Regions from separate parts of the Homo sapiens genome. Here region 2 is linked to region 1. The links are contacts of gene promoters, found by promoter capture Hi-C in human tissues and cell types (Jung and others, 2019). All regions are on one chromosome and are shown on one strand. Each heading gives the region's core, a stretch centred on a gene start or on the middle of the fragment in contact. The rest is flanking DNA. Distances are from core to core; before and after follow the strand shown.

Evidence for each region. The method cuts DNA at HindIII sites, captures the fragments that hold promoters and counts their contacts. A contact is called where the count stands out against the background at its distance.
Region 2: a contact is called between a fragment that was not itself captured here and the fragment with the promoter of TRMT10B in region 1, in 2 of the 25 tissues and cell types used here (H1 embryonic stem cells and psoas muscle).

What each region holds. Positions count from the first base shown.
Region 1 is chr9:37,751,936-37,755,411 of GRCh38, reverse strand. It overlaps TRMT10B (tRNA methyltransferase 10B), which reads right to left and starts at 1,607. Exons shown (of 9, transcript NM_144964.4): 1 at 1,560-1,607. RefSeq lists a silencer at 1,463-1,697. The HindIII fragment of the contact is 14,807 bases long and covers 1-3,476 here.
Region 2 is chr9:37,792,420-37,795,574 of GRCh38, reverse strand. The region is part of intron 2 of LOC105376037 (a long non-coding RNA gene); the gene reads left to right. Among named protein-coding and RNA genes, the nearest start is that of DCAF10, 6.8 kb to the left of the region's middle. The HindIII fragment of the contact is 4,652 bases long and covers 1-3,155 here.

The sequences.
Region 1 (3,476 bases), core at 358-2,857:
ACCATTTTAACCATTTGTAAATGTGCAGTTAAAAACACACCTAAGGGCATCCACATTGTGTGCCACCATCACCACTGTCCAGCTCCAGAGCTTGTTTGTCTTCCTAAAGTGAAACTAACTTTAAAAAAAAAAAAAAAAAAAAAGACGGAGTCTTACTCTGTCGCCCAGGCTGGAGTGCAGTGGCGCGATCTCGACTCACTGCAAGCTTTGCCTCCCAGGTTCACGCATTCTCCTGCCTCAGCTTCCTGAGTAGCTGGGACTACAGGCACCCGCCACCATGTCCGGCTAGATTTTTTTGTATTTTTAGTAGAGACGGAGTTTCACCATTTTAGCCAGGATGGTCTCGATCTCCTGACCTCGCGACCCACCTGTCTGGGCCTCCCAAAGTGCTAGGATTACAGGCGTGAGCCACCACACCCGACCCTGTGACCTTTATATAACTCTCCCTTCCCCAATCCTGGCAGCACCTTTGTATTTCCTATCTTATGAATTTGAGTGCTGCTCTGGTTTGAATGTTTGTCCCCTTCTCACATTCAGGTTGAAACTTAATTGCCATTGTAACAGTATCAAGAAGTGAGATTTCATTTATTTTTCATTTCTTCATTAAACATCTTTTCTGAGCCTCCAATTATGGGTCCGATGCTGAATATTCATTACTTTCGTTCAACAAAGCTACTAAGCACCTGACATAATAGTACATCCTGGGGACTTGGGGATGACATTCGTTCTGCTTTCATGGGGCTCCAATTATCTGACCCTGCCTTGCATGACAGCTGTCTACCTGTTTCCCCACTAGATTATAAACCCAGGGAAGAATTGGAAGAATTCACCTGTACACCCTCAGTACCCGAGCCCTGTGAGCATCCTAAGTATTTGATGATCACCACTCTTCTGCTTAGAACCCTGCAGTACTCTCCATTTCACTGACAGTAAATAGCCCAAATCCATACAATGACCTATGCAGATCACTAAGGTCTACCTTTCTCGTTTCCTCTGCACTCCGGGGTCTATTTGCTGTTCCTCAAACATACCCTTCAAGGCCTTTACATTCGCCGTTCTCTTTACCCTCAATGCTCTTCCCTAAGACACTCACAGACTACCTTCCTCTCCTCATTCATATTACTATCCAACATAACCTATTTTACTTGTTGTCGGAACCTCCTCCATCCCTTCAATGTAGGCAAGTGTTGTTTGCTTATAGATGCTTAATAAATACTTGCTGAGTTCATAAATCCTCCACTCCGCACCCCCACCCTAGGTTGGCAGAGGCCTCAGACCTTTGCTAGCCTAACTCCCACCTGATGGGTACCTACACTGCCGCTAAGTGATGGCACATCGAATTCAGCCTGAGAGCACCCCGCCTGCGGGTCTCTCCCGGCCCACAGGCTGAGCGTGCGAGTGGAAGCAGGAAGGGAAAGTATCAGGAAGGTGGAGTACCACAGGCCACATGACTGCTAAACGCTGCTTTCTCAACGTCCGCCCCACCCGCGAGGGAGGCGGACGTCCCAGGACAGACCCCGCAGCCCCCAGCCAGCCCCCTTAACCAGCGGACAGCGTACCTGATCCCCTCACCCCCACGCAGCGGCAGCGGCGCGCATCGGATCCCCCCCGCCCCCGGCCTCGCTTCCGCTTCGTAACTCCGCTCCGAATGGCATTCTGGAAATTGTAGTTTTTCACCTGCAGGGTGCTCGTGGGGCCGAGCCGGAGCGGAGGCTGCGGCTTCTACTCCCAGCCCTGGCGGTAGGGAGCTGCGTCCTGCTGTGGTGGTTGCCCACCTTCTCTGAACCCCTGTCTCCCCGTCTGCTGGACAGCTATTACAACCCCAACCCTTTACCAACTTCACAGGGCTCCTACAGGTGCTCTGTTGGTTGTCAAGGGCTGGACATTGCGAAACTGGGGTGTGTGAAGCAAAAAAATTCTAAGGCCCGCACCCGACTGAATGGACCTCCCTCTCTGCCGAAGGAAACCTTAAAAACTAGTTATGGCCATTACAGGAAGCGGGAGTGGAGCGGGGCGGTTGGACATGCACTGATATTATATCCCATCCCTTGCGGAGTTTAGGCCCAACGGGGACTGACACAACAGAATCTTTGTAGAACTAAAATATCAAATTCCAACCTGATATCATATTGTGTCCGGAAATGGTGGATTCTTGGTCTCACTGACTTCAAGAATGAAACCGCGGACCATCGCGGTGTTACAATTCTTAAAGACTGCGTGTCTGGAGTTTCTTCCTTCTGGCGGGTTCATGGTCTCGCTAGCTTCAGGAGTGAAGCTGCAGATCTTCGCAATGAGTGTTAAATCTCTTAAGAGGGCACACCTGGAGTTGTTCCTTCGCTCTCGGTGGGTTCGTGGTCACACGGGCCTCAAGAAAGAGCTGCAAATACAGATCTTCACGGCGAGTGTTATAGCTCACAAAGACAGTAGGGACCCAAAGGGTTAGCAAGCAACAAGATTTATTACAAAGAACAAAGCACCCACAGTCCAGAAAGGCAACCCCAACGGGTTGCCGCTGCTTGCTCGGGCAGCCTGTTTTTATTCTCCTATCTGGCCCCACCCACATCCTGCTGATTGGTCCACTTTACAGAGAGCCGATTGGTCTGTTTTACAGAGAGTTGATTGGTCCGTTTTGACAGGGTGCTGATTGGTGCGTTAACAATCCCTGAGCTAGACACAAAAGTTCTCCAAGTCCCCACTAGATTAGCTAGACACAGAGTGTTGATTGGTATATTTACAAACCCTGAGCTAGACACAGAGTGCTGATTGGTGCATTTACAAACCTTGAGCTAGATACAGAGTGCCGATTGGTGCATTCACAATCCCTTAGCTATACATAAAGATTCTCCAAGTCCCCACCAGATTAGCTAGACACAGAGTGCCGATTGGTGCATCCACAAACCCTGAGCTGGACACAGAGTGCTGATTGGTGCATTTACAAACCTTGAGCTAGATACAGAGTGCTCATTGGTGTATTTACAATCCCTTAGCTAAACATAAAGGTTCTCCAAGTCCCCACTGGACTCAGGAGCCCAGCTGGCTTCATCCAGTGGATCCAGCACTGGGGCCGCAGGTGAAGCTACCTGCCAGTCCCTCGCCGTGTGCCCACATTCCTCAGCCTTTGGGCGGTCGATGGGACCGGGTGCCGTGGAGCAGGGGTCAGTGCTCGTCTGGGAGGCTTGGGCCTCTCGGGAGCCCACGGCGGGGGTGGGGGTGGGGGTAGGGGTGGGGGTAGGGGTAGGGGTAGGGGTAGGGGGAAGGCTCAGGCATGGCGGGCTGCAGGTCCCAAGCCCTGCCCCGCAGGTAGGCAGCTAAGGCCCAGCGAGAAATCAACAGCAGCGCCGGTGGGCCGGCCCTGCTGGGGGACCCAGCGCACCCTCCGCAGCTGCTGGCCTGGGTGCTAAGCCCCTCACTGCCTGGGGCCGGCGGGGCCGGCCGCCGCTCCGAGTGCAGGGCCCGCCAAGCCCACGCCCACCCGG
Region 2 (3,155 bases), core at 520-3,019, 40 kb before region 1:
TTGCACAAATTTGGTAGTCTGAATCTGGTGTGTTTGATGCTATGACAAATTATGGACAGTGAGCTATGGAAACACAGATGAGGGACAGTTCAGCAGAGGGTCAGAAGATACTCCCTGGAGGAGCTGGTGATCAAGCCAGTTTTTAAGGAGAGGTTAAGCAGAGGGAGGGAGACTGGATTGTTAAGCAGGGTGCATACATGGCATGAAGAATGGCACAGATCAGGGCATGTTTGGGAAATTTACAAGGGATTTGGTGTTGCTCAAGAAATGGAAGTCAGGGAGAAGCAGGATGAGGTGGCAAGGTGAGCAGAGGAGAGGGTCACAGAGAGTCTTTTTTCCCTGTAGGTGATACGATGCTCTCAGAGGGCTTTCAGGCAGGAGAAAGGCATGGTCAAAGCTGTGTTTGTTATTTGTTTTGCAACAAGTTTTTCCATATATTTGCCCCATCAGGCTGAATTGTCATCAAGAAGACACCTATTTTGCCTGTCTCCATATTATGTTTTTAGTTATGAAAAATTTTCAAACAAAATTAGAGAGAAGAGTATTTAAAAAAATAACTATATGCCCATCATCTAGATTCCATTATTAGGATTTTGCCACATTCAATTCATCTCTCTCTCTCTCTCCTTTTTCTGTGAAAATAATTCTTTATTGTGGTAAAATATATATAAACATAAAATTGACCATTTTAATCATTTTTAGATATACAGTTCAGTGATATTAGGTACATTCACATTGTTGTGCATCCATCACCACCATCCATATCCAGAACTTTTTCATCTTCCCAGACTGAAACTCTGTACCCGTGAAACAATGACTCTCACTGACCCGTCTCTCCAGCCTCTGGCAACTAAATATCAACTTTCTATCTCCATGGTTTGAAGGCATTTCATGTAAATGGAATAATACAATATGTGGCCTTTTACTTAGCGTAATATTTTCTAGATTAATTTTACATTGTAGCACATTTAGTCCCTTTTAGGTTTAAATAATATTCTATTGTATGATATACCATGCTTTGTTTATTCACTTATCAGTTGCTGGACATTTGCATTACTTATACTTTTGGCTATTATTAATCATTATGCTATGAACATTCATGTCTAAGTTTTTGTGTAAACATAAGCTTTCAATTTTCTTGGGTATATCCTAGAAGTAGAATTGTCTGCCTGCCTTTCTTTCTTTCTCCCTTCCCTTCCCTCCCCTCCCCTCTCTTTCCTCCTCCCTCCCCCCCTTCCATTCCCCTCTCTTCCCCTCCCTTCCCCTCCCGTCCCTTCTCTTTTCAGAGATGGGGTCTCTGTTACTCAGGCTGATCTCAAACTCTTGGGCTCAAGTGATCATCCTGCCCAGGCTTCTACAGTGCTGGGATTACAGGCATAAGCCACCACACCCCTGGCTGGAATAGCTATGTTATATGGTAACTTTATGTTTAACTTTTTAAGAAGCTGCAAAACTGTTTTTCAGTTTTCAAAGTGGCTGTACCATTTTATAATTCTACCAGCAAGATGAGTGTTCTGAAATTTCTATATCCACAACACTGGTTATAATGTCTTTTTGATTGTAGCCATCCTAGTGGAGGTGAAGTGATATCTCATTGTGATTTAATTTGAATTTCCCAGATGACTAATGATACTGAGTATCTTTTCATATGCTTCTTGGTTGTTCATATATCTTCTTTGAATAAATGTCTGTTTGGATCCTTGGCCCACCTTTAAATTGGGTCATCTATCTTTTTATTATTGAGTAGTAAAGTTCTTTATATATTCTAGATACATGTCCCTTATCAGACATATAATTTTTAAATATTTTCTCCTATTCAGTGAGTTATCTGTTCTAATTTTGATAAAGTCAGATTTTTCAATTTTTTCCTGAATGTGCTTCTGGTGGTATAATATCTAAGAAACCACTGTCAAATCCAAGGTCACAAAGATTTGCCTCTGCATTTTCTTCTAAGAGTTTTATAATTTTAGTTCTGAGATTTAGGCCTTTCAATCATTTAATGTTTTTATATAGTTTAAGATAGGGATCCAACTTCATTCTTTTGCATGTGTATATCCAGTTGTGCTTACACCATGTATTGAAAACATTATTCTTTCCCCATTGAATTGTCTTGGCACCTGTGTAAAAAATCAGCTGATTGTAAGCATAAAGGGTTTTAAAAAAATATTTTTTCCCATCTCTCAACTTTTAGCTGAAGATGAAGTTTTATTTCTGTATCTTAATTCTATTCCATTAATCTATATCTATCCTTATACCTATACAACATTGTCTTGATTACTGTAGCCTTGTAGTAAGTTTTGCAATCAGAAATATAAGTTATTTTGTTCTCACAAAAGAAGAACTTTGTTCTTCTTCAAGATTATTTTGGCTATTCTGAGTCTCTTGAATTTCCATACAAACTTTAGGAGCAATTTGTCATTTTTTGCAATGAAGGCAGTTGGGATTTTGAGAAAAATTGGATTGAATCTGTATTTCAATTTTGGGAATAGTGTTATCTTAGCAATTTTTTTTTAAATTATTGTTATTTGTGGAGATATGGTCTCACTTTGTTGCCTAGGGTGGTCAGGAACTCCTGGGCTCAAGCAGTCATCCTCCCATGACCTCCTATTAATAATATTAAATCATCTGAACCATGAAAATGGGATGGGGTGCCTTTTCAATTATTTAGATCTTTGTTAATTTCCTTTAATAATATTTTGTAGTTTTCAGAGTTTAAGTTTGACATTTCTGACCGGGCACAATGGCTCATGCCTGCAATCCCAACACTTTGGGAGGCTGAATGTGAGGATTGCTTGAGCCCAGAAGTTCAAAATCAGGCTGAGCAACATAGTGAGACTCCCATCTCTACAAATTAAAAAAAAAAAAAAAAAGTTTGACATTTCTTTTGTTGAATTAATTCCCAAATATTTTCTTTTCTTTGATGCTATATAGTGGAATTATTTTTGAAGTTTTATTTTTGGGTTGTTCATTTCAAGGGTACAGAAATATAATTAATTTTTGTATATCCTATAAACTTGCTGAACTTGTTAGTGTTAGTTCTAATGGTTTTGTGTGTGTGTGTGTGTTTGTGTGGGTGGGTGGGTGCCTTAGGATTTTCTATATACCAGATCACATCACGTGCAAATATAGATGGTTTTAATTTTTCCTTTCCTATC